4 separate regions of the Homo sapiens genome follow, and all the other regions are linked to region 2. The links are contacts of gene promoters, found by promoter capture Hi-C in blood cells and fetal thymus (Javierre and others, 2016). All regions are on one chromosome and are shown on one strand. The core of a region is centred on a gene start or on the middle of the fragment in contact, and the rest is flanking DNA. Distances in the headings are between cores, read along the strand shown. Region 1 has its middle 7.1 kb from the start of SPATS2. Region 2 holds the start of KCNH3 (potassium voltage-gated channel subfamily H member 3). Region 3 overlaps SPATS2 (spermatogenesis associated serine rich 2). Region 4 overlaps SPATS2 (spermatogenesis associated serine rich 2).

The links. The method cuts DNA at HindIII sites, captures the fragments that hold promoters and counts their contacts. A CHiCAGO score of 5 or more calls a contact.
Region 1: a contact is called between a fragment that was not itself captured here and the fragment with the promoter of KCNH3 in region 2, in 16 of 17 cell types (endothelial precursors, M2 macrophages, M0 macrophages and 13 more). The highest score is 16.2, in endothelial precursors.
Region 3: a contact is called between a fragment that was not itself captured here and the fragment with the promoter of KCNH3 in region 2, in 1 of 17 cell types (endothelial precursors). The highest score is 5.1, in endothelial precursors.
Region 4: a fragment that was not itself captured here is called in contact with the fragment with the promoter of KCNH3 in region 2 in 9 of 17 cell types (endothelial precursors, M1 macrophages, activated CD4 T cells and 6 more); the score reaches 7.6 in endothelial precursors.

The regions. Positions count from the first base shown.
Region 1 is chr12:49,356,813-49,363,931 of GRCh38, reverse strand. No RefSeq gene overlaps it. Among named protein-coding and RNA genes, the nearest start is that of SPATS2, 7.1 kb to the left of the region's middle. The HindIII fragment of the contact is 5,412 bases long and covers 990-6,401 here.
Region 2 is chr12:49,534,048-49,540,986 of GRCh38, reverse strand. KCNH3 (potassium voltage-gated channel subfamily H member 3) reads right to left here and starts at 1,957. Exons shown (of 15, transcript NM_012284.3): 1 at 1,495-1,957; 2 at 1-88. The coding sequence starts at 1,570. RefSeq lists enhancers at 334-383, 1,028-1,837, 1,838-2,649 and silencers at 1,967-2,146, 2,877-2,996. The HindIII fragment of the contact is 19,285 bases long and covers 1-6,939 here.
Region 3 is chr12:49,394,146-49,400,904 of GRCh38, reverse strand. The region is part of intron 2 of SPATS2 (spermatogenesis associated serine rich 2); the gene reads right to left. Among named protein-coding and RNA genes, the nearest start is that of SPATS2, 30 kb to the right of the region's middle. The HindIII fragment of the contact is 961 bases long and covers 1,667-2,627 here.
Region 4 is chr12:49,373,896-49,380,797 of GRCh38, reverse strand. All of the region lies in intron 2 of SPATS2 (spermatogenesis associated serine rich 2), which reads right to left. Among named protein-coding and RNA genes, the nearest start is that of SPATS2, 9.9 kb to the right of the region's middle. The HindIII fragment of the contact is 1,464 bases long and covers 3,650-5,113 here.

The DNA of each region.
Region 1 (7,119 bases), core at 2,446-4,945, 180 kb after region 2:
TTACAAATATTAATTTTGTTGTTGTTGTTTTTGAGACGGAGTTTTGCTCTCGTCGCCCACGCTGGAGTCCGATGACCCAATCTCAGCCCACTGCAACGTCTGCCTCCCGGGTGCAAGCAATCGTCCTCTCTCAACATCCCGAGTAGCTGGGATTACAGGCGCCTGCCACCAAGCCCAGCTAATTTTTGTATTTTTAGTAGAGATGGGGTTTATACCATGTTGGCCAGGCTGGTCTCGCACTCCTGACCTTAGATGATCCAACCGCCTTAGCCTCCCAAAGTGCTGAGATTACAGGCTTGACCAGGCCTGGCCTATTTTTGTTCTTTATAATGCACATACATTTTCTACTGTGTATGTTTATTTATGTATTTTTTTGAGACGGAGTTTCACTCTTGTTGCCCAGGCTGGAGTTCAATGGCATGATCTCAGCTCACCGCAACCTCCACCTCCTGGGTTCGAGCGATTCTCCTGCCTCAGCCTCCTGAGCAGCTAGGATTACAGGCATGTGCCACCCCGCCCGGCTAATTTTGTATTTTCGGTAGAGACAGGGTTTCTCCATGTTGGTCAGGCTGGTCTCGAACTCCTGACCTCAGGTGATCCACCTGTCTCAGCCTCCCAAAGTGCTGGGATTACAGGCATGAGCCACCGCGCCCGGCATACTGTGTATGTTTTACTTCACAATAAAACATTTATCGTCACCTGCCTTGAAATAATTGCAAATTGTTCAAAGTGCATGTATAAATTATTTTGGAGGAAAATAAATGCTGCAATAAATGCAAAATATAATATTTGTGACCTACGCTGAAGAAAACACAAAAATAACCAAATTTCTGAAATGTTTAGCATAGATGTTAAGGGTTAAAAAAGAAAAAGATCATTTTCAAATGAGATCCATTAGCCTCTGTTCAGCCTTACGAAATTAATTTATCCCATGTTACTTAATGATCAAGTGCCAGAACTAGAATTAGAGAGAAATCATGACATAAGCTTCACCTTGGCAGATATATTCTGCAGGTATTAACCTGACCTAATTTGATATGTTTTCAAATGGATCCTTGACTTGATATTTTGTATCTTAAATAATTGATTGCCAGATTCCATGTTTTTATTAGGAAGAAAAAGAGGCCAACTAGAGCCTGAGAGGCACAAAAATTTAACTTATTATCTTGGAGACTTGATAACCAATGACTGTAATTAAGAAACATAATGTTTTAAAGTTTCCATTGACTGAAGCTGCAAGTGACAACAGGCACAAAAACCAGTAGAGAACAGCTCATAAGATTGTACTTTTCCTTTTGCCTATACTAACCCTAGTACCTAAGAATATTCATGTTAGCAGTCCAAAGTGTGCCTCAGAAAATTCGTTTCATGGGATACTAAATAGATGTTATCTGAGAAAACTATTCCATGTCCAATTAAGTTTGGGAAGCACAGGTTAAAATCAAGTTAAACTGGTGTATTTACTTCCCAGAATATTTAATATGATACCATGCTTTGTTCATATTGAAGCGAGCAGGCTATGTAGTGTGCAGCTTTCCCCAAGGAAGCTCTTCCCACTCCCATCCCCACCCCCAAGACTTTTTTGCAGAATTAATGTGTCTTTGAACATCCATTGTATAAAGTTCAATTAAAATGGTTTAATTAGGTCAGATTTCCCATTTTACAGATAACAAAACTGAGGCCCAAAAACAAGGCTAACATACCCAAATTTTCACTTGTGTATCAGATATTTAAAGCTGGGAAAGGCCTTAAACTATCAAAGGTTGAAGTGTTACATCACAAAATTATTGGCAATGCTGGACCCAAAACTCAGATCTGAAAAATTCAGTTCAATGTGAGCCTTGCAGGTTCATTAAGACTTGACTTTGATATTAAGTGAATTTGTCCTATGTGTAAGATAGTAACTAATATTGCTGTACTCTAAGTTCTTTTATTAAGTTTTTAAATTATCTTTCATTTATAGATTCTGTCACCACTTTAAAAAAATAGTATGCTTCACTTCTGTCAAATGTTTTATACTTCATAAAGCACTCTGTACACATTGTCTCATTTGATTGTCTGAACATTGTGTGGTGCAGGCATCATTGTCCTCATGTAACAAATGAGGAAACTGAAGCTCAAAATTTTTCAATAATTTACCTAGGTTGCACATTTAATAAATGTCCTGCTATTTACATTAGGAGAAGACACAGTCACTTGCCCTCAAGCAGCTTTGGTATAGTTAAGAAGAGAAGACTTGCAAACATGAGACAGAGAACAATTTATATGGCAACATGCAAGAAACTTATTGATAGAACAGTACAAACTAGATGGGAATACAGAAGGAATTCAAAGGGCAAAGATTACTAGAGGTGGAATTAATCAGCAAAGGCATCATTTAGGGATAAACCTTAAGCTAGGTCATAAAAGAAGTGTAAAGATTTGTATTAGCAAGGCTAGGCATGGTGGTTAATGCCTGTAATCCCAGCACTTTGGGAGGCTGAGGCCGGTGGCTCACCTGAGGTCAGGAGTTCGAGACCAGCCTGGCCAATATGATGAAATCCTGTCTCTACAAAAAATACAAATATATTAGCCTGGCGTGGTGGCGGGCGCCTATAATCCCAGCTACTCGTGAGGCTGAGGCACAAGAATCACTTGAACCCAGGAGGCGGAGGTTGCAATGAGCCAAGATCACACCACTGCACTCCAGCCTGGGCAAGAGCGAAACTCCATCTCAAAAAAAAAAAAAAAAAAAGATTTAGCAGAGAGGAAAAATAATTATAGGAAAGAAGAAGAACATCAACCAAAGGCAGAAATATCAAAACAAACACATTGATGGAGAAGAATTAGAGCCTGAAGGGAGATGGGTCTGAAATGATCAGTCATCTTGGCTGTGCAAGAAAAGTCAACTGCTAAGACGAAGTAAGTTTGCAGGCACTGAATATCAAATTTACTGAATATTAAACGTACACTCTCTCCTGTGGTTCATGGGAGGGAAAGGGAGGAAAAAGCAAGAGAAACCACGTCTAAAGTGGGTAAGGATATGGAAGGAGGGGTGGGGGAGTAAAACAAGCCTCAGTGGCCCTCAGATCTGTGACTGGGAAACACCTGAACCAAAGACGTTTTATGTCCCACAACCCCTTCCCATTCTTTTCTTTTTTTTTTGAGACAGAGTCTCGCACTGTCACCCAGGCTGGAGTGCAGTGGCGCGATCTCAGCTCACGGCAACCTCCACCTCCCGGGTTCAAGCGATTCTCCTGCCTCAGCCTCCCAAGTAGCTGGGACTACAGGTGCGCCACCATGCCCAGCTAATTTTTTTGAAGTTTTAGTAGAGACGGGGTTTCACATGTTGGCCAGGATGGTCTCAATCTCTTGACCTCGTGATCCACCTGCCTTGGCCTCCCAAAGTGCTGGGATTACAGGCGTTAGTCACCGGCGCCAAGCCCCATTCCTTTTTTTTTTTTTAAGAGACAGGGTTCTCACTCTGTTGCCCAGGTTGGAGTGCAGTGATGGGATCATTGCTCACTGCAGCCTCCAGCTCCCAGGCTCAACTGGTCCTCCCATTGCAGCCTTCCCAGTGGCTTGGACTACAGGTGTGAGCCACCAGGCCTGGCTAATTTTTTTTTTTTTATAGAGATGGGGTCTCCCCATGTTGCCCAGGCCGGTCTCAAACTCAAGCAATCTTCCCCACTGGGTTCAAGTGATCCTCCTGCCTTAGCCTCTCAAAAGTGCTAGGATTATAGGCATCAGCCACTATGCCTGGCCTTTTTTTTCCCCACTCTTGAGACAGATTAATAAATTTCTTATTTATTTATTTGAGGCAGGGGCTTGCTCTGTTGCCTAGGTTGGAGTACAGTGGCAGAATCATAACTCACTGTAGCCTCAAACTCCCGGGCTCAAGTGATCCCCCCGCCTCCGCCCATCATCACACCCAGCTCCCGTTCCTTTTCTGGTACTAATTCACCTGAAATGTGCCTGAGCCATTGATTCTAGGAAAAATGCCCTTTTAGGTGTTGCTTGCAAAGCCAGGCTCACATGCTGACTCAGTCACTGCCCAGCAGATGTTCCCCACAACATTTCTCAACCCAGAATTGGGACTGAGGTCTGGCACAGAATGGGTTAAAAGATTCCCTTCTGGGCTGGGAGTGGTGGCCTGTAATCCCAACACTTTGGGAGGGCAAGGCGAGCAGATCACCTGAGGTTGGGAGTTCGAGACCAGCCTGACCAAAATGGAGAAACCCCCGTCTCTACTAAAAATACAAAATTAGCTGGGTGTGGTGGTACATGCCTGTAATCCCAGCTACTCAGGAGGCTGAGGCAGGAGAATCGCTTGAACCCGGGAGGTGGAGATTGTGGTGAGCTGACATGGTGCCATTGCACTCCAGCCTGGGCAACAAGAGCGAAACTCCGTCTCAAAAAAAAAAAAAAAAGATTCCCTTCCAAGTTTCCCATACAGGGCACTGTTTTACTGCTTTGTTCTGTTGAAACTTGTCAGTAACGTTTAAACCCAGAAAGTCCAAGATCCTTGCTTAGAGTCATAATAGTTTGCAAATAACCAGATGGACTATGGAAAGGGTGAATGAGAGGTGGGGAAAAAGAAGAATAAGAAAGAAAAGAGAGAACAAATTATTGAAATGAAGTATCTTTAGCTGGAACCCTACATAAATTTTTTACTTTTATTGCTCAAAACTCATCTTAGCAAAAACAAAACAAAACAAAACAAAACAGTTGAACAACTTTTAATCCCTTGAGGCGACTAACAGAAATACTGCAGGGAACATGAAGCAAAAGAAAAACATTTTAAATCACCTTCTCAGGGTGGGAACTTCAAAAGCCAAAGCACTGGCATGAGATGTGCGTTCAAAGTTCTAACATGAAATAGACAGCTCTAGATTCCCCTAGGAGATTAAATGACAACTGAAAAGCATGCTTCAGTTGGAGCTTGCTTTGAATAACACCCCAAATCCAACTTCACAGTTGCTTGCTCCTTCTCAGCAAAAGGAGAGGACTGAACTCTGGTAATGAACCTGCTATGGAGGTGCCACTACCACATTTTTTTTTAAGTGAAGGGGACAGCCGAGGGACATATTTTACCATGACAGCCTTGTAGCGCCATCTGCAGTTCCTAGCTAAGACTACAACAAACCACACGTCTCCAGGCTTGTTAGGACCACCCCACTGTTCAAGAGAAAAGAAAACTAAGACATAGAGTACTAAAGTCAGTGAGTCCTCAAAAGCCTCCTGGGTCCTAGAGTAGATGCAAACATAGCTCTAAGACACAGTGCCTAGGAAAAGATCTAAGGGCCTCAGTTGACTATAAACTCAATGAGTCACACTTACATAGCAACCAAAAAAAGCTAGTAAATTTTTAGGCTGCTGGATTTAAAGGATGATATATTGTTCAGACCTTGAGAACGTAACAGCCCCACAGTACCCCGTTCTGTCTGAACACGTCTCAGAATTGCATTTAGTTCTGGGCACCACAATTTAAGAGCAATATTGACAAGAGCTATAAAAAATGTTCATACCCTTTGACCCAGTAATCCCACCCATGGGAATTTATTCTAAGGAAATAATTCAAGAGAAGAGATGAATTAGAGCCATGAAGATATCGATGCCACATTATTTACAACAACATTATATAAATGTTTATCAAAAAGGGAATATTATACAGCTTTAAGATATAATGGTGTGTTATTAAAAAATAAAATGTAATGATAATGCATGCTTCAACATATTTGAATCATTTTTTCTTTTCTTTTCTTTTTTTTTTTTTTGAGAGTCTCGTTCTGTCACCCAGGCTGGAGTGCGGTGGCACAATCTCAGCTCACTGCAACCTCCTCCGCCTCCCAGGTTCAGACGATACTCCTGCCTCAGCCTCCTGAGTAGCTGGGACTACAGATGCATGCCACCACACCCAGCTAATTTTTGTATTTTTAGTAGAGACAGGGTTTCACCATGTTGGTCAGGCTGCTCTCAAACTCCTGACCTCGTGATCCGCCCACCTCAGCCACCCAAAGTGCTGGGATTACAGGCGTGAGCCACCACACCCAGCCCATATTTGAATCTTGGAAACATTATGTTCAATGAAAGAAGCCAGACACACACAAAGGACAACATATTGTGTGATGCCATTTAAATAAAATGTCCAGGATAGGCAAATCTAGAGACAGAAAGCAGATCAGTGATTGCAGAGGCTAGGAAGAGGAGGAAACAGAGAGTGATTGCTGATGAGTATGGAGTTTCTTTTTGGGGTGGTAAAACATTCTGGAATTAAATAGAGGTGATAATTATACAACTTTGTGAATCTATCAGAAACCACTGAATTGTACACTTTTAAAGGGTGAAGTTTATGCTATATGAATTATATCTCAATTAAATATATATAATAACAAAGTCTTTATAGTAATATTTTAAAAGCTTATTGAATCACAAGCATTTTTTTATTTTACTGTAAAAACATCATCTTTATCAGGGAGGGGGGAAAGTACAAAATTATGTCCCTGATATGATTCAACCATGTAAAATGATGTACATTTATGAACGACGACTAGAAGTGAACATGAATAACTGAAAACAAACAGTGTGATGCAAGTGAATTTTTGGAGGGTGAGATGGTCATTATATTGTTCTTCGAGCAATTAAATATTTTATTTTCTTCCCAAAACAATGTCCACAAGGGGGCAGACAGAAGATGACAAATAAAACCATTTAATAAAAACCTCAGCTGAAAAGCTAATAACTCCAGAATGCAGGTTGAAAGCAAGCTTAAAGGTCATCTAGGCTGGGGTCAGTAGCTCATGCCTGTAATCCCAACACTTTGGGAGGCCAAGGTGAGAGGATTGCTTGAGCCCAGGAGGTAAAGGCTGCAGTGAGCTATGACCGTGCCACTGCACACCAGCCTGTGCAACAAAGTAGATTTCGTCTCAAAAAAAAAAAAATCATCTAAGTCATCTAAGTCCATCTCCCTCACCTGACAAGAAAGAAACAGAGGCCCTAATGGAAAGGTGGCTCACCCAAAGTCACCAGTATGGTCAATGCAAGAGGTAGAAGTAGAGACCCATCTCTTCACCTCTTCATCCCTCCTCACTCGGACTACAGTGCCTCCTCCTTAAACAAAGTGATGGTAAATGTGGCAAA
Region 2 (6,939 bases), core at 708-3,207:
AAGCCCGTGAGGTCACAGAAGCCATCAGAGCAGTAGACCACGGGGAAGAGCCCCGCCACCTGGGCGTTGCCCAGCACGAAGTTACTGTCTGCAAGAGAGCACTTCTCAGAGGAGGCGTGGGGTGAAGGGGCAGGAGGCCTACCACCCCTCCTTTCTCAAATGCCTGCAACCAAAGAGTGGGTTTTCCAAACCCCAGGAATCCTGCGTGTGTTAAGGCAGGGCTGTTTATGAATAGCAATCAGTGTGTGTCACCTGTTTGTCAGTGCCCTGCAGCAGGTGTGAGTACATTCAAGGATCAGCACATGTGAACTGAGGTCGGTGAATGAAGCGCTGTGCGGGCACTGTGCCTTCTGGAGGGTGTCCTGAGCAATGTGGGGTAAGGGCTGGGATTGGGGAATCCCTAATGAGGACTGCCCTGCCAGCTCTGGGCCAGCCTCAGCCCCACCTCTACTTCTGCCAGGCTCACCCACTAGCCAGGTACCCAGGTTGGCTGTCTGGCTTCTCCCACTGAGACACACCTAGACTGGAGGCAACCCCAGACCACCATACATCCTGCTGTCTGTGTTTTAGCCCTAGCTGCCTGACCTGGCTCAGGAATTAGTGAATGTGATCAAGAATGGGGGTGTAAGAATGGTGACTGAGCACGGGAGCCAGGAGCCAGGAATGTATTGGGGAGTGGGGGGCACTGAATCAGCAGGCTGCAGGAGCCAAGCACACTGGCAAAGCAGATGGAGGAGCCCGGAGTGGGGAGAGCGCAGGGCTGGGCTCCCACCCCCTATCAGGAACCGGAGACCAAGGAGGACCTAGGCAGAGAGCTGGGAAGCCCCACGGGGGATGTGAGGGAGAGGAGGAGGGAGGGGCTTTCATCACTTCCCCTGTGCTCAGAGCCCCCAGAACCGGGGATCCAGAGCTCGGGGCGCCTTCTCCAAACTTCCCCAGTCCTGATGGGAGTCCCCAAACCATCTTCTTGGGGCTAGATGGCCTCCCCAAGTCTAGGGGGTTCAGGCTATGAGACACGGGGCTTGGACACACGGTGCTCTCCCGAGTGCCGCCTACTCTTATCTCCGTTTGCAAATCTCTTTTCTAAATCTGTGTTTTGAGCCCTCTCAGCTGTCCCTGAGCACTGTTCACCCGCCTCGCCTTACCCCACCAGTCCGAGGGTAGTTGCTGCGACAGCGCCAGACGCAGGGGTGGGATGGGTCAGACTGACTAGGTTCGGGTTCGAGACCCGGCTAACAGAGAGCATCCCAGGACCCACACCCAGGGACTTCTGGCCCTGTTGCCTCGCCTGAAGCAGTGTTGACCCCGAACCTTCGAACCTTCGGGGAAACAGCGCCTAGCAGGAGACGATGGCCCCAGCCTCAAGAGGGGCGGGTAGGGAGGAGAGGGTGAGAATAGGCTGGCGCCAAGCTGGGCTGCTGGGGGTTCGGGGAAGGCGGGAGCCCTGGCGAGGGTCCGGCGGCCCGGGTGCAAGTGGGCGAGGGTCGGACTCACGCGTGCCGTCGAAGCGCGTAGCGATGGTGTCCAGGAAGGTGTTCTGCGGCGCCAGGAGGCCCCGCATGGCCGGCATCTTAGGCGCCCGCGGCTGCCCGCCCCATCCCTCCGGGGTGCGGGGACTCCGCGCCGGGGGAGGGCGCCCAGCTCGGCCGCCCCCCGCCGGGCCCCGCGCTCCCTAGCGCAGCCGTCGGGGGGCAATGCGCAGACCGGGATCCGGGGTCGCGCCGGACGCTGGCGCGCGAGGGGGCGTCCGCGCCGTCGGGGCCCGGAGCATGGCGCGCGGCCCCTCGCGCCCTCGCCGCCCACAAATCCCGGGCTCCAGGCCCCGCGGCCGCCGCGCTCTCAGCACCTCCCGCCGCGGCAGCGGCTCGCGTGTCGGCTGCGGGTGGGCTTCCGCTCGGCTTCGCTCGGCGCCGGCTCTCGGCAGCTCCCTCCGTCTGTCGGGGAGAAGCTGCAGCCTCCCTCCCTCCCTCCCGCGCCCGCCGCCTGCACCGGGGTAACCATGGAGACGGGGCACACCCAGCCAGGGCCGCCTCCTTAAAGGGACAGGCCTCCCGCGGAGGGCTCCCCTCCCTTCGGGACCTCGGCGGGGGCGGGGAGGTGGCGGCCGCCCTGATCCCACCCCGCGGGCCTCCCCGCCCGTACCTCGGAGAACCACTGGCGAGCGGCCGGCCCCCTTTGGCTCACTCGGCCTCAGCCGCAGAGGGGAGGCGTCTTTCTCTGCAGCCCGGGGGCTCTCCGAGAGCCTCCTAGCAGCCTCTCCTCCCCCGGCGGAATGGGAGGGGGGCTCGGGGCGTGGGGGGCAGGGGACGCATGCTGTGGAAGATGCTCTCCCCGAGGAAAATGCAGTGGGCAAGGGGACAGGGCGACAGGCGCAGGTGAAGGCCCTGCGGCCAGCGGAGGCCGGCGCTCTAGAGGGGCTCCAGCCGCACCCGGGAAATCTAAAAGCAGATGGGGCGGGGGTTCTGCGCGCACAGCTGCCCGGCCCTCGAGACTTTCTCATCCTCAACTTGACGCTCTGGAAAATGGATCCAGCTGCTCCTATGAGGTGTCTCCGCAAGCAGGAGCTGCCTGGAAACCAGAGGGTGGGTAGCCCTAGGAGTAAGGGTCAGACGTCCTCCGTGTGACCCCGTGGGCGGAAAGGGTGTGTGGTGGGGAGGGGAGCGCCAGACCCCTTGTCCTGCCCCTCCATTTCCCTCTGGCATTTGTCACCTCTTGCCTCTCCTAAGCGCGCTAGAGGGTCAGGTGGTAAATACAGGGGACCGGCAGGGGTCAGACACTGCGAAAAAACTTCCGAACCTTGTGCGTGCGGGTCCTGGCACCAGGAGAGCGAGGAAGGCCGAGCCCCGCGCCTCACGCAGCTCGTCCTGGAGAGCTCCGCGCGGCGCCGCGCGGGGTGCTGCCCTGGGGCGGCTGCAGGGAGCCCCTTCCCGGCGGGGCGGAGCCGGGCCCGGGGCGGCCGTCTTTTCTTGGCCTCCCGCGCTGCGACGGTCCCCCGGACTTGCCTGCCAGCGCCGCTCCTCCTCCCTCCCACGATTTGCCAGCGAGCGCGGCTGCCGCCCGCGCCCAGAGGAGCCGCCGGGGCCAAAACAGCAATTTGTTCCCTAACGAGCGAAGCGGTAGGCTCAGCACCCCCATCCCTCGAGACGCACTCACAGTCACCAGCATCAGAAAGATGCTACCCCTCATCAGCGACGAGAGCCAAAGCCCCAGGCACCTGTATCTAAATGAGCTGGCGCTTTGGGAAGGGAGGACGCGCTCCTCCTTCTCCGGTCCTGTGAAGCCTGGAATCTGGTCCCCAGGACGAGGAGTGACCCTGAGGAGTGACCCTAAGGAGTCGGGAGATCCTACTCCCATCTCATCCCCAGCCTTGGCTGGATCCTGGCTGTAAAGTAATCCCCTCCCCCAGCCGTTCAAGGCTTCCTCTCCAGGCGGCGGTCCAGCTGTCTACTAAAAAGAAGGACATTTTAGGAGTCAGTTCACTTTGAGACAGGATAAGGCCACAATTGAAATCACCCACCCACTTGGGAACCAGGTCTGCCACTTGCTGTCCCTGTGATTAAATTTTTTTTTTAATTTTGGTCTGTGTGAATTTTTTTTTTTTTTTTTTTTTTTTTGTGACGGAGTCTCCCTCTGTCGCCCAGGCTGGAGTGCATTGGAGCTATCTCTGCTCACTGCAACCTATGCCGACCAAGTTCAAGCAATTATCCTGCCTCAGCCTCCCAAGTAGTTGGGACCACAGGCATGCGCCACCACGCCCCGCTAATGTTTGTATTTTTAGTAGAGATTGGGTTTCACCATGTTGGCCAGGCTCATCTCGAACTCTTGACTTCAGGTGATCTGCCCGCCTCAGCCTCTCAAAGTGCTGGGATTACAGGCGAGAGCCACCACACCTGGCCTGTCTGTGTGATTTTTAAAGGCAAGTTATTAACCCTTCTCTGACTCAGTTCTCTCATCTGTAAAATGCGGATGCTAATAATAACATCAGAGGGTCGTAATGAGGATTCAATGAGTGAGTATGTGTAGAGGATCTAGAACAGTGTGTGACACCTGCAACATGTAAATGTTTGTTGTCTGATTTTGAGTCTCCTAGGAGCCCTGTGAAACAGCCAGGGTGGGGGCTCCTTATGCTCCATTTCACAAAGGAGGAACCAGAGCTGAGAGAGAGGGAGAGAGGAAGAAGAAGAAAGAAGAAAGAAGAAGAAGGAGGAGAAGGAGAAGAAGGAGAAGAGAGAAAGGAGGAAGGAGAAAGGAGGAAGGAAGAAGAAGGAAGAAGTTAAGAAGAAGAAGAGGTGGAGGAGGAGGAGGAGGGGAGGGAGAGGGAGAAGAGGAGGAGGGGGAGGAGGAGGGAGAGAGAGACTTGCTCAAGGTAACAGAGTTGATAAATGACACAGCCAGGGTTAGAACCCTGACAGTCTCCCAGCCCTAGGTCGTTGGGTCTACCTCTCTCTAGCCTAACTGTGTGGGCACTCAGAGGACTGGTCATCTGGGCTTGTGTAGCATGTCTGGGTGGCCTTACACTTATCCCTGTAAGGCCTAAGTGTTTAGACTTTCAGGCTTCCAGCTCACCTGCTGGGGCTGGTTTTGGGCATTAAGCCAAACCAGACACCTTGGGTTAGGGTGATCAGGGTGAGATGGAATGTGTGGGGTGCCCCTGAGGATTACAGCAGCTTACACTTATTGAGCATTAACTTTGTGCCAGGCACTGTGCAAAGTGCTTTACTTGGATCGTCCCATTAATCTTCATAATAACGCTATGAGCTAGTTATTAGCTATAACTGCCAATTCACGGATGAAAAACTTGGGGCAGCGAGGTCAAGTCCCTAGTCTGAGGTGCACTGCCTCCTCCAGCAGCTCCAGGCACAATGCCCATGTCACCCTTTGCTGCCCTGGTTCCCACTTCCAGGAGAAGAAAATACACTAATATTTATGGAATGTTATTACCATTCTTATTGCAGAGTGAAAAGTCAAAGGCCTGTTTGGGCCTTTAAACCCCTTCCCCCATTGCCCCTCAAAGAACTCATGTGAATGCGTACTGGGAGGGGGTACCGCCACTGACCCTTTCCTTTATGTGGCCTGTTTTAGATGAGCGTGATCAGGCACAGGATCTCAGCCCACTATCCTCTCTCTTCACCTTTACCCAGTCCCTCAGATCTTCCTGCCAGACCTGGCTTTTGTTTGTATGGATTCCCCCAGCTCTTAGTCACAATTCCCTATCTTTTTTTTCTATTCTTTTTTAATTTTTATGTTTTTTCTTTTATTCCTTTTTTTTGAACGGAGTCTTGCTCTGTCACCCAGGCTGGAGTGCAATGGCATGATCTCGGCTCACTGCAACATCTGCATCCTGGGTTCAAATGATTCTCCTGCCTCAGCCTCCCGAGTAGCTGTGATTACAGGTGCCTGCCACCATGCCCAGCTAGTTTTTGTATTTTTAGTAGAGACGAGGTTTCACCTGGGTTGCCAGGCTGGTCTTGAACTCCTGACCTCAGGTGATCCACCTGCCTCGGCCTCCCAAAATGCTGGGATTACAGGCATGAGCCACCTTGCTTGGTCCTCTTTTATTCTTTTAATTCCCTATCTTTTCCTTCCATCTTTCCTCCAGCCCCCAACCCACATGCACAAAGGGCAGGGACCCACATTTAGGAGAGAGTAAGACGGGCATTGGGGAGTTGAAAATTGAGCAGGGCCCTGGGAGATGGGCACCATAGTCCTCCTCACTGTAACTCCTTTTCCTCTCCCCTTCCGCCAGCTCTTGACGCATTTGGCCGTGGTGGGGAGTCACAGGGAGGGGAATGTTGAGGAGGATCCCTGTTCAGAGATGCTCAAAGCCTCTGTCAACAAGAAACTCGGGAGGCTGCATTTTGGAGCTGCCGTGGGAGGCCTGTGGGAGTATTAGCTACAAAAAGGAATATGGAGAGACAGTAGGGAAGCGCAAAGCAAGGAAAAAACCGCTCAAGACACAAAGGATGGAAAAAGTCCCCCTACCCCGCAACCACAAAGCGCAGGCGGAGTCAGACACTGTGCTCAGGGAGTGGGAATAGGCGGCTGTCGAGGAACAGAGCCCAGGGGCCCCTCCCCTCTCCCCGTCTCTTCCCACTCTCTCCACCTTCCTCTCTGGAGGTCCCCAGGCCTGAGCCTGGCTCTCAGCCAGCAAGGCCAGGCTCTGCTTCTAAGGTGTGTTGTATGGTGGGAAAATCTTGGGCTTTCAAGTCAGACTAGTTGGGGTTCCAATCTAGCTCTGCCACTGGCCAGCTGGGAGACCCAGGGTGTGCAGAGGTACTTTATCTTGCAGAGCATCGGGTCTTTTGATTTGTGAAATGAACCTTAGCCAGCTGTTATTTTTAAAAAGCCCTGGCCTGGCCGGGCACAGTGGTTCACGCCTATAATCCCAACACTTTGGGAGGCCGAGGTGGGCGGATCACTTGAGATCAGGTGTTCAAGGCCAGCCTGGCCAACATGGTGAAACCCCATCTCTACTAAAAATACAAAAATTAACAGGGCATGGTGGTACACGCCTGTAATCCCAGCTACTCCGGAGGCTGAGGCAGGAGAGTTGCTTGAACCCAGGAGGTGGAGGTTGCAGTAAACTGAGATCGTGCTACTACACTCCAGCCTGGGCGACAGAGCCAGACTCTGTCTCAACAACAACAACAACAACAACAACAACAACAACAACAACAACCACCACAACCAATCTCTGGCCCTCGGTGCTGGGACCAGGGAAATGAGCTCAGGATGAAGCCTGAGGGTTCCCCCTCCCCACCAAAATAAAACATTTTGGAATTCTTTGAGGCCTCTAGTATTTGGCCACACCTTGGCTGTCTCATTCTAGGAGATTCCTTTTCTTTTAGTGGAAGACCCTGGCTAGAGTAGAGTGGGAACAGACCACAATCAACTTTTTTTTTTTTTTTTTTGAGATGGAGTCTTGCTCTTGTGGCCCAG
Region 3 (6,759 bases), core at 898-3,397, 140 kb after region 2:
GATCCTGTCTCAAAATTAAAATGAAATAATAAAAATAAAACATTCATACTAAACAGTTCTCACATAAAATTCACAACAGCTAACTTCAAATGGTCTCTTAGCTCAGCATGACAATCAAAACTTTTGCCTCATCCATTCATTCTCCCACTCCTCTATTTGGTACATTTTATGCCATTTTCTCTTTCCTCAAGCTATCAATGAACATTTCCTCGTCCATGCTTACTCCTAGTTGCTGCCCTTCCACTTCCTCAGTGAAAGAGAAGGCAATCACTACCACCATTTGCCCTGTCCTCTCTCCTGTTATGCACTGTAGATGAACTGACTGCTCCTATCTACAGCCAACTCCTCCACTTGAACACCAGACTCCAAACCCTATTGCCTAGTCATTCCCCTTTCTCCCTCCTGCATCAGCAATATTTCCCTCTCTACTGGTGCATCCTCATCAGCACTGTAGAAACATACTCTCAGTTATCTCACTGAAAAAGATAAGCCATAACCCCAGTTTCCTCACCAGCTACTTATCCATTTCTCTGCTCTCCTTCACAGCAACACTCCAAGAAGCTGTAACTGTCTCCAATTCCTTTCCTCCCATTCAAAATCACCCCAAGAGGCTTTTGCTTCCTGATTACCCTACCAAAGCCTCTCCCATCAAGATCAGCAAGAAATTCCAAATTACTAAATCTGATGGTCAATTTTTAGTCATCTTACTTAGATATCTGCAACATCTAGTATACCATGTATATTCTTACTTTGTCAAAACATTCCCCTCCCCAGAATATAAACTCAAGGAAGACAGAGAGGTCTGTTTTGTTCACAGCTGTAACTCTAACAGTGCCTGGTACATGGTACCATATTTTTTTCTTTTTTTTGAGACGGAGTCTCGCTCTGTCGCCCAGGCTGGAGTGCAGTGGCGTGATCGCTGCTCACTGCAAGCTCCGCCTCCCGGGTTCACGCCATTCTCCTGCCTCAGCCTCCCGAGTAGCTGGGACTAAGGCACCTGCCACCACGCCTGGCTAATTTTTTGTATTTTTAGTAGAGATGGGGTTTCAACACATTAGCCAGGATGGTCCTGATCTCCTGACCTCGTGATCCGCCTGCCTTGGCCTCCCAAAGTGCTGGGATTACAGGCATGAGCCACCGCGCCTGGCCATTTTTTTCATATTTTAACATCTCTGAAAACCAGGCACAATTAATGACATCTTATAATTGCTATTTGTTTCTTTCAAGCACCTGGGGCACTACCAATCCGAAACAACTTTTAATTAGAATCTCTGTTTAAATTTTGTTGTACCACATAGGGAGTGTGAATTCAGACCTAGAACCAGTTTAAATTCCCATGAAAGTTTTTAGCCCTCCTACACACCATCAAAGTTGAGACACAAGATGCCTTGCTATGCCTTTCTGTATGGTGGGTTTACTTCTCATTTCCATTCTCATGTAGTTTCCCAGCTTTATGCGTGGCCCCTAATAGACTATCCATCTTGGGCTTATTTCTCTTTTCTAGTAGTACATCAAGTAATGGTGTATCTTACAACTGATGAAATCAGAAATAGCAATACAAGTATGTTATTACAGAAATGGAGATAAAAATATTAACTAAAAAAGCTAAAAGTGCTTCTGAGAAAAGGGAAATAAAGGAAGGAGTGCTGCTTTCTTAAAACAAGCTTTACAAAACTATTTGATTCTATAAACCATATTCACACATAACTTTGATGAAAATGAACCCTGAAAACCAAAGGAAAAAAAAAAGAATTATATGCTCTTTGAGAAAAAAATTAGAAAAAAAGACACGAAAACGTATGTGGACATGGGGGAAATGCAGGGGTCAGAAGGTGAGAAGCCCTTGAGTCTGGCAAAGGCAAAATAAAGAGGAAGGACAAAAACAAAAGGAAGAAAAATCTAGGGCAGCTTTGCAAGTACTGGAGACAAAGCATGCTAAAACAGCCTAAGAGAGAAAAAGTCAAAATTGTCAGGCTGTTTTCATTGAAATTGTAGGAAATAGTACAGAAATAGACCTTTTCAAACAAGCTCCCTATTACCTAATGTACATCTCCACCTGGATATCCCACAGGAAACTCAAATTGAACATGTTCCTAGTAAAAGAGCTGTTTAACTCAAATCATTTTCTGGAAAACATGGGGGTTGGTGGGATTTCTGTATTTACATATAAAGGATTAAGTGTGTGAGGGGAAAAAAAGAATATCCGTAATCCAAGTAAATATACCATCAATTAAATTTTCCAGATTTCTCATGTTTGAAAATTTAACACATCTCAACTAAGTTCATCCATTCCCAAGCCTGTCCTTCTTCCCATAGTGCCTATGTGGGTGGCACTACTTGGTCTCCCAAACAAGAAACCCAGGAAGTGATATGCGTTCTTCCCTTTATTCTCCCATCTTCATCCAATACAATCCCGCCTAACCTATTTCTAAATTCTCTTGAATTTATCTTCTCCATTCCACCTTCCTTCTATTAGGACTTCAATCTTCCCTGGAGTACACCAATATTCTGTAACGTTCCAACCAGCCTCCACATAACTGCTGAGGGGATCCTTCTACATTGAACATAAGCCTGTTCGTGTCATTCTCCTGTTTAAAACCCCCTTATATAAAGTTCAAGTTCAAGCTTCTTAGCATTGCAAATAAAATTTTTTATGAACTGGCCCTAGTCTGGCCCCCATCCTCATTTAAAACTACTTATTCATTCATTCATTCAGTCAGCCATCAAATTTTTCTTTTCTTTTCTTTTTTTTTTTTTTTTTTTTTTTTTGAGACAGGGTCTCCCTCTGTCTCCCAGGCTGGAGTGCAGTGGCTTGATCTCACTGCAATCTGCACCTCCTGGGCCCAAGCAATCCTCACACCTCAGCCTCCTGAGTAGCTGAGACCACAGGCTCACACCACTCATTTTTGTATTTTTTTGTAGAGATGGGGTTTTGCCATGATGCCCAGGCTGGTCTCAAATTCCTGAGCTCAAATGATCTGCCCACCTCGGCCTCCCACAGTGCTGGGATTACAGATGTGGGCCACCATGCTCGGCCAATGGATCCTTTTTTTTTTTTTTTTTTTTTTTTTAAAGAGCTAAGAGTCTCACTCTGTCACCCAGGCTGGAATGCAATGACACCATCATAGCTCACTGCAGCCTCAAACTCCTGGGCTCAAGTGATCTTCCCACCTCAGCCTTCCACGTAGTTAACACTACAGGCATGCACTACCATATCCAGCTAGCTTTTTTTTATTTTTTGTAGAGATAGGGTCTTGTTATGTTACCCAGGTTGGTCTCAAACTCCTGGCCTTAAGCGATCCTCCCATCTTAGCCTGCCAAAGCTGTGGGATTACAGGAGTGAGCCACAGCACTCAGCCAGCCAGTAAATATTTATTGAGCACTTATAATATGCCAGATTCTATACTAGGCACTGGGGAATATACTAGTGAGCAAAACAAAATTGTCCTGCACTTTCCTAGCTTACAGTCTAATGGAGGAAACCGCTCAAATACATGCACCCACTCAGCAAACATCTTTTTAATATCTACTTGTATAAGCACTCTTCTCAGGACAGGAAATACAGTGATGAGCAAGACAAAGTCCCTACCCTCAGACAGTTTACATTCTAATAAAAAACTATGATACATGCCATGAAAATAAAGCTTAGGATGCTATGATATCCACAGGGAGAAGGAAACCTGAAACAAACTGAGGAGTCAGCAAAGACTTCTCTCAGGAAGTGATAACTGAGGTCAGAGCCCAAAGATGAGAAGGTAATGATAAGAGAAGAGGTGGTGGCAGTGAAGAACATTCCAGACAGAGGGAATAGCAAGTACAAAGGCCCTGTAGCGAGTGGGAACACAAGGCATTAGGGAAATAAATGGCCAGGTAGCATGGGTAGGAATGGTGCCAGATGAAGCTAAAAACACAGGCACTAAAATGTAAATATATTAATGATCACTGTGTTGGGAATGGATTATTAGGGGTACAAGAGTGGAATCAGAGGAGCTCATTTAAAAGGCTATTACAGAGCTGAAGTCCAGAGCTGAAGACAAATGATACACATGAATACCTGAATCGCTAGGAGTTACAAAAGAGTTTAGGCCACAGGCCATGTACTCAGCCCAAAACAAGATGGAACTGAGCATAAATTAAGAAACAAAAAGGACTGCTCCATCCATGAAATGCGAAGTAGAAACAGCTCTCTAGCTAGGAGAAGAGAAAGCCTTGCATTTGGGACTAGGAATGGAAAAAGTTACCTGGAAGAAACTGGATCCTAGTCCTGCACCATTCACAGATGTGAGATCTAAATTCATACTACACATGTGGTAGAGGGACCCCAAGCTGACACTTTATCATAAATAAGATTCAGAACTAAAGAATGAAATAGTACCATAGTAGAAGCAAAGGAGAAACTATGCAGTAGGGAAGCTTCCACAATCTGAGGTACATAGGACTCAAGTTCAGGGTTAAAGAAAATACACACACATACACAGACAGAGAAACAAACCTCCCACGAGGAAATCAGCAATCAAAGACAGCACCCCAAGAATAAGAACACGATGAAGACAAGGAGATGCTAAAACCCTTGTACACTGTTGGTGGGAATGTAAAACAGTGCAGCTGCTATGGAAAACATATGACATGATCCACTAATCTCACTTCTGGATATTTATCCAAAAGAACTGAAATCAGGATCTTGAGGGGTATTTTCATTCCTACGTTCATTGTAGCATTATTCACAATGGCCAAGATGTGGAAACAACCTAAATGTACATCAACGGATGAATTAGTGAGAAAATATAGTATACACATACAATGGAATATTAAGTTTTAAAAAAGGAAATCCTGCCACATGTGACAACATGGATGAACCCTGAAACACTATGCTAAGTGAAAGCCAGTCACAGGACAAATAATGCATGATACCACTTATATGAGGTATATAAAATACTCAAACACACAGATGCATCAAGTAGCATGGTGGTTGCCAGGGGCTGGGAAGAGGGGGAAACAAAGAGTTGCTATTCAGTGGGTATAAAGTTTCAGTTACACAAGCTAATTAAGTTCTACAGGTCTGCTGTAAAACACTGTCCCTATAGTTAATATTACAGTATTGTACAACAAAAGATTTGTCAGGAGGGTAGATTTCATGTTAAGTGTTCTTACTACCAAAAAGAAGTAATATAACAATCTGGGTCGGGCACAGTGGCTCATGCCTGTAATCCCAGCACTTTGGGAGGCTGAGGCGGGTGGATCACCTGCGGTCAGGAGTTCAAGACCAGCCTAATCAACATGGTGAAACCCCATCTCTAATAAAAATACAAAAAAATTAGTGGGCATGGTGATGGGCGCCTGTAATCCCAGCTACTCGGGAGGCTGAGGCGGGAGAATCACTTGAATCATGGAGGAGGAGGTTGCAGTGAGCCAAGATCATGACACTGCATTCCATCCTGGGCAACAGAGTGAGATTCTGTCTCAAAAAAAAAAAAAAAATCTGAAAAACAAGGTAGTATTGTCTCTAAGATAGGAACAACACAAAGATATTTACTTTCACTGCTTCTCTTCAACATTGTATTGGAGGTCCCAGCCAGTGCAATCAGGCAAGAAAAAGAAATAAAAGAAGACTGGGCACAGTGGCTCACACCTATAATCCCAGCACTTTGGAAGGCCAAGACAGGAGGTCACTTGAGGCCAGGAGTTTGAGACTAGCCTGGGGAACATAGCAAGACTCCATCTCTATAAATAAAAAAATACTTTAAATTAAAAAAATTTTAAATTAAAAATTAAAAGGAATCCAGATTAAAAAGAAAAAAGAAAAAGAAATAAAATTGTCTTTTTTTATCCCCCGAGACAGAGTCTCGCTCTATTGCCCAGGCTGGAGTGCGGTGGTGGGATCTCGGCTCACTGCAACCTCCGCCTCCTGGGTTCAAGGGATTCTCCTGCCTCAGTCTCCTGAGTAGCTGGGATTACAGGCCTCTGCCACCAAGCCCAGCTAAATTTTTTTTTTGTATTTTTAGTAGAGACAGGGTTATGTTGGCCAGGCTGGTTTCGAACTCCTGACCTCAGGTGATCCACCTGCCTCGGCCTCCCAAAGTGCTGGGATTACAGGCGTGAGGCACCACGCCCGGCCTTAAAATTGTCTTTATTCATAGATGACATGATCATCTGTGAAAAAACTATCTGATAAAATCTAAAAAATAATAATAAATGAGTTTAGCAACGTTGCAGGATACAAGGTCAATACAGAAAAATCTATTATATTTCTATATACTAGCAACAAGCAATCACTAATTAAAACTATAAATACAAAGCATTAAATATAAAATTTGTAAAGATAAATCTGAAAAAAAAAAGATGTGAAAGATCTGAACACTGAAAACTACACATCATGGAGAGATATTAAAGACCTAAATAAAAGGAGTTATATATCTATCTGGTCATAGGTTAGAAGATTCAATGTTGTCAGCATGCCAATTCTCCCCAAACTGATTCAATAGATTTAATGCAATCTCAATCAAAATCCCAGCAGACTTTTTTTGCAGAATCCAGCAAACTAGTTCTGTTTTTTTTTTTTTTTTTTGGAGACAAGGTCTTGCTCTGTTCCCCAGACTGGAGTGCAGTGACTCGATCTCAGCTCACTGCAACCTCTGCCTCCTAAACTCAAGGGATCCCTCCCACCTCAGCCTCCCAAGTAGCCGCGACTGCAGGTGTGCACCATGAAGCCCGGCTAATTTTTGTATTTTTGGTAGAGACAGGGTTTCGCCATGTTGCCCA
Region 4 (6,902 bases), core at 3,132-5,631, 160 kb after region 2:
GAATGTTCACAGTAACCTTCTTCACAGTAGGCAAAGGTGGAAAAGACACAACTAACCATAAATAGATAAATATATATATATATTTTTTTTTTGAGGCAGAGTCTTGCTCTGTCTCCCAGGCTGGAGGGCAGTGGTGCCATCTCGGCTCACTGCAACCTCTGCCTCCCGAGTTCAAGTGATTCTCCTGTCTCAGCCTCTCAAGTAGCTGGGATTACAGGCGCACGCCACCACACCTGGCTAATTTTTGTATTTTTAATAGAGGCGGGGTTTTGCCATGTTGGCCAGGCTGATCTCAAACTCCTGACCTCAGGTGATCCGCCCACCTCGGCCTCCCAAAGTGCTGAGATTACAGGTGTGAGTCACCGTGCATGGCCAATAAACAGATTTTTTCAAATGACCTGGAAGGCATTGAAGGCAGAGTTGTATATCTGAACAACGGACTAGTATTTAGCCATAAAGAGGAATGAGGTTCTCGGTCAGGCATGGTGGTTTTCGCCTGTAATCCCAGCCCTTTGGGAGGCTGATGTGGGAGGTTCACTTGAGTTTGAGGCTGCAGAGAGCTGTAATCACACCACTACACTCCAGCCTGGTCAACAGAGTGAGATTTTGTCTCAAAAAAAAAAAAAAAAAGAGAGAGAGGAATGAGGTTGATACATGAGACCAGTGGTTAAGTCTCAACATTATGCTATGTCAGAAAAGCCAGACACAAAAGGTCATATATTGTGTGATTCCATTTATTTGAAATATACAGAATAGGTACATCCACATAGACAGAAGGCAAATCAGTGGTTGCCAGAGATGAGAGGAGGAAATAAAGAGTAAATATTTAATGAATACAGGGTCTCCTTTGGGGGTGATGAAAAAGTTCTGAAATAGGCCAGGCACAGTGGCTCATGCCTGTAATCCCAGCACTTTGGGAGGCCAAGGCGGGCAGATCACCTGAGGTCAGGAGTTTGAGACCAGCCTGATCAATATGGTGAAACCCCATCTCTACTAAAAATACAAAAATTAGTCAGGTGTGGTGGCGTGTGCCTGTAGTCTCAGCTACTCGGGAGGCTCAGACAGGAGAATCACTTGAACCCAGGAGGCAGAGGTTGCAGTGAGCGGAGATCATGCCACTGCACTCCAGCCTGGGCAACAGAGCAAGACTCCGTCCAAAAAAAAAAAAAAAAAATTGAACTAGATAGAGGTGATGGTTGTAGGACATAAAACGGTTAATTTTTGTTTTCTTTTTTTTTTTTTTTTTTGAGACGGATTCTCGCTCTGTCACCCATGCTGGAGTGCAGTGGCGTGATCGCGGCTCATTGCAACCTCTGCCTCCCGGGTTCACGCCATTCTCCTGCCTCAACCTCCTGAGTAGCTGGGACTACAGGCACCCGCTACCATGCCCGGCTAATTATTTTTTTGTATTTTTAGTAGAGACGGGGTTTCACCATGTTAGCCAGGATGGTCTCGATCTCCTGACCTCGTGATCCACCCACCTCAGCCTCCCAGAGTGCTAGGATTACAGGCGTGAGCCACTATGCCCGGCCAGTTAATTTTATGTTATATGAATTTCAACTCAAAAATAAAATCTGGGGCCAGGCGCAGTGGCTCACACCTGTAATCCCAGCACTTTGGGAGGCCGAGGTGGGTGGATCATGAGGTCAGGAGTTCAAGACCAGCCTGACCAACATGGAGAAACCCTGTCTCTACTAAAAATATTTTTAAAAATTAGCAGGGCATGGTGGCACATGCCTGTAATCCCAGCTACTGAGGAGGCTGAGGCAGAAGAATCACTTGAACCCGGGAGGCAGAGGTTGAAGTGAGCCGAGATCGCACCACTGCGATCCAGCCTGGTCGACAGAGGGAGACTCCATCTCAAAAATAAAATAAAATAAAATAAAAATAATAAAATAAAATCTGATGGGCACAGAGGCTCATGCCTATAATCCCAGCACTTTGGGAGGCTGAGGCCAGAGGATAGCTGAGCCTAGGAGTTCAAGACCAGCCTATGCAACATAGCAAGATCCTGTCTCTACAAAAAATTTTTACATTAGCCAGGCATGATGGCATCCACCTGTAGTCCCAGCTACTTGGGAGACAGAGGCAAGGGGATTGCCTGACCCCAGCAGGTCGAGGCTGCAGTAAGCCATGATCATGCCACTGCACTGTAGCCTAGGCGACAGGGCTAGACCCTGTCTCAAAAAAAAAATAAAATTGGCCGGGCGTGGTGGCTCATGCCTGTAATCCCAGCACTTTGGGAGGCCAAGGCGGGCAGATCATGAGGTCAGGAGATAGAGATCATCCTGACTAAAACGGTGAAACCCGTCTCTACTAAAAAATACAAAAAATTAGCCGGGCGTGGAGGCATGCGCCTGTAGTCCCAGCTACTCAGGAGGCTGAGGCAGGACAATCGCTTGATCCCGGGAGGCGGAGGTTGCAGTGAGCCGAGTTCGAGCCACTGCACTCCAGCCTGGGTGACAGAGTGAGACTCCGTCTCAAAAGAAGAATAAAATAAAATAAAATAAAATAAAATAAAATAAAATAAAATAAACATTAACTCAAAATAAATATCCCAGCACTTTGGGAGGCCGAGGCGGGCAGATCATCAGGTCAGGAGTTTGAGACCAGCCTGGCCAACATGGTGAAACCCCATCTCTACTAAAAATACAAAAATTAGCCAGGCATGGTGGCGAGCACCTATAATCCCAACTACTCAGGAGGCTGAGGCAGGGGAATCGCTTGAACCCTGGAGCTGGAGGTGGCAGTGAGCCAAGATCGTGCCATTGTGCTCCAGCCTGGGTGTCAAGAGCAAGATTCTGTCTCAAAAAATAAATAAATAAAATAAAACAAAATGCAACAATCATGACAACTCTATAGTAGGATTACTACTGCATCCATTTTACAGATACAGAAACATAGGCTCAGAGAAATTAAATGACTTGACCAAGGGAGTAGGTAGGGGAGTAGATTCAAAGCCAGATTTGTGTACTCAATGGCTTGTGCTTTTAACTAACATCTCATACAGCTTCCCTATTTTAATAAGTTAAAAGAAAAATATTGGAAATATTATACATAGAAATAACTATACTATCAATATTGGCCTGATCATATTATATATAGAAATATTATAACTATACTATCAATACTGGCCTGATCATAACTAACGCCATTCAGTAGATACACATTTCAGGCATCAGAAACTTCAGCTACCAAAAAGGTTAATAATATACTTGGGGCTATTTCACAATGGAAATAATTAGCCCGTACAGTGTGAAAGGATGATGTGTTCTCAGCTTTACTGCCCAATGAAAAATGTAATCATATAAAAATTGAATATAATCCTACTTAATGTTGCTGAAATGTTAAGATTTCAGGTAACAAGTAATCAGGATGAAAGTATCAAATATCCTTCCTTTTTTCAGAAGCTTTTTCATCAGGCTAGAGACCGAACACACATTTAGTAGTCGTTGTTACGCATTGTTCCCTGTGCTCCCAAATTACAATAATATCATATAATAATATCCTATAGTCTAATTTATAGGATCATCATAACATTATGGACTGGTAGGCTAATGACAAATGCCAAATATCAACTTTTAAAATTCCTAGATACAATACAACCTTTGAGTAATAACAGAGGTGAAAAACATTAACCAACTAAGCTTTGTTTAAAGCATTATCAACTTAAGAAATTAGACATTTCAACAAACCTAGTGTATTCAGTGTGTATATTCTAGATGAACAAAAAAAAGAAGAAAGAAAACCTCCTGTGTGCTGATAAGATTAACGAAACACTGGGCTGGGTGAGGTGGCTCATGCCTGTAATCCCAGCACTTTGGGAAACCAAGGCAGGCGGATCACAAGGTCAGGAGTTCAAGACCAAACTGGCCAAGATGGTGAAACCTGTCTCTACTGAAAATACAAAAATTAGCCAGGCACAGTGGCAGGAGCCTGTAATCCCAGCTACTCAGGAGGCTGAGGCAGGAGAATTGCTTGAATCCGGACAGCAGAGGTTGCAGTGGAGCTGAGATCGCACCACTGCACTCCAGCCTGGGCGACAGAGTGAGACTCCGTCTCAAAAAAAAAAAAAAAAAAAAAAAAAATCAACAAAACACCGGCCAGGTACAATGGTTCACACCTGTAATCTCAGCACTTTGAGAGGCCAAAGCCAATGGACTGCTTGAGGCCAGGAATTCAAGACCAGCCTAGGAAACATAGCAAGACCCTGTCTCTATAAAAAATTTAAAAATTAGCAGGGCATGGTGGTACGAGCCTGTACTCCCAGCTACTAGGGAGACTGAGGTGGGAGGATCACTTGAGCCCAGGATCTGGAGGCTGCAATGAGCCATGATCACATCACTGCACTCCAACTTGAGCGACGAAGCAAGACTCTGACTTAAAAAAAATCAGGGGCGGGCGTGATAGCTCAGGCCTGTAATCCCAGCACTTTGGGAGGCCGAGGCAGGCGGATCACCTGAGGTCAGGAGTTCAAGACCAGCCTGGTCAACATGGTGAAACCCCGTCTCTACTAAAAATACAAAAAATTAGCTGGGCGTGGTGGCGGGCACTTGTAATCCCAGCTACTCGGGAGGCTGAGGCAGGAGAATCACTTGAACCTGGGAGGCGGAGGTTGCAGTGAGCCAAGATTGCACCACTGCACTCCAGCATGGGCGACAGAGTGAAACTCCATCTTAAAAAAAAAAAAAAAAAAAAAAAAAAATCAGGCCAGGTGCAGTGGTTCATGCCTGTAATCCAAGCATTTTGGGAGGCCAAGACAGAAGGATCATTTGAGGCCAGGTGTTTGAGACCAGCCTGGACCCTGTCTCTATTTAAAAATTAGCAGTACCAGATGGTGAGCACCTGCATTCCCAGCTACTTGGGAGGCTGAGGCAGGAGGATCACTTAAGCCCTGGGAGGTGGAGGTTGCAGTAAGCCAAGATTGTGCCACTGCACTCCAGCCTAGGAGACAGAGCAAGACCCTGTCTCAAAAAAAAAGAAGTTTAAGCTACATGGCTGGCTTCATCTGCAGTGTTATGTCCCACCTACCATTCAGCTACAATACATTAACTTCCCGTCATTACATTAGTTACAGATGAGTTTCACTGTTTTCATCACATGTCACAAAGCTTCTTATGAAGGCATGCTATACAAAGGGCTCCTGCAGGACATGCAGGTAGATTACAAGAGCAATTTACTATAAAAATGTAACTAGATATCCAAACAAGGTAAGCAGAAGAGTCACTTCTGCCACACACTAATGTACATTTTGAATCATTTTTAACAGTAGGCCAGGAAGAGCCAGCAGTGGGCTAACCACACTGACATGCTATGATCAGAGACCAAGTGGATAATGTAAGGAAAAGTACTGCTCAACTACAGAGGGTAGCCTTAAAACAAAAGCAAGTTATTTAAAATAGGAAAGACTGCAGCTTTTACAAATTGGTCTTTTCAGTCCTATCCAGGTCAGTAAGAAGTAATATCATTGGCAGCATCTTCAAGTACAAAAGATATTTACTTATCTATCCTGGCTCATTCACAATCATATAATGGCCTCATCACAAACATCCTTCTCCTCCGTCCTAATACCCTTTAGCAAATTCTAAAGACCACTACCACCACACACACACACACACACACACACACACACACACACACACACACACACACACACTCCACAACTTGCAATCATACATCTTGTTAATTAAGTAATGTAAAAATCATCCTTCTTACCAGCAATCCAAGGTTGTTATTTATTATAGGATTTGGACTGCTAAGAATCCCTGTGTAACCCTTGGAGATCCCCCAAAACCTCCAATCAACCTATGCCTTTTTTTTTTTTTTTTTTTTTTTTTTTGAGACAGATCCTCGCTGTTTCCCAGGCTGGAATGCAGTGGCACAATCTCGGCCCACTGCAACCTCCGCCTGCCAGGTTCAAGTGATTCTCCTGCCTCAGCCTCCTGAGTAACTGGGATTACAGGCATGCACCAACACACCCGGCTAATTTTTGTATTTTTAGTAGAGATGAGGTTTCGCCATGTTGGCCAGACCGCTCTTGAACTCCTGACCTCAAGTGATCTGCCCGCCTCGGCCTCCCAAAGTGCTGGGATTACAGGCGTGAGCCACCGCACCCAGCCTTCAACTTATGTCTTAACCACAAATTAGTCATAGGACAATGGCTGCAGAAGTTACCTTTAAGTAACATCTATATCCTCAGACCCTGCAGAATGTTTCAAGGGCCTGCAACTACTGAAGAATCTGTATAGAAGATGGTATATATTTCAGGAACCCATTCCTATAGGCTGCCATGGTAGATGTGAACATGGGAGAGTAAATGCTGGCTTCTGGCCTATCCTTAATATCCAGTGGCTAAAGATAATAAAGTGAGCTGGGCACTGTGGCTCACACCTGTAATCCCAGCACTTCGGAAGGCCAAGGGCAGGAGGATCGCTTGAACCCAGAAGTTCAAGACCAGCCTGGGCAACAAAGCAAGACCCTGTCTCTACAAAAAATTTTAAAACTAGCTGACTGCCATGGTGTGTGCCTGCAGTCCTAGCTACTGAGGCTGAGGTGACAGAATCACCTGAGTTCAAGGAGTTCAAGGACGCAGTGAACTATGATGGCACCACTGCACTCCAGCCTGGGTGACAGAGCAAAACCCTGTTTCCAAAAAAAATAAAAATTAAAAAATAATAACATATTTATAAACTTCAATTTTTTTTTTTTATTGTTTAGAGACAGGGTCTCTGTTGTTTAGGTTGGAGTGCAGTGACATGATCATAGCTCACTACAATCTCAAACTCTTGGGCTCAAGCAATCCTTTTGCCTCATCCTCCCCAGAAAAGCTATGACTACAGGCGCCAACCACTATGACCAGCTAATTTATTTATTTATTTAGAGTTGGAATCTCGCAGTGTCGC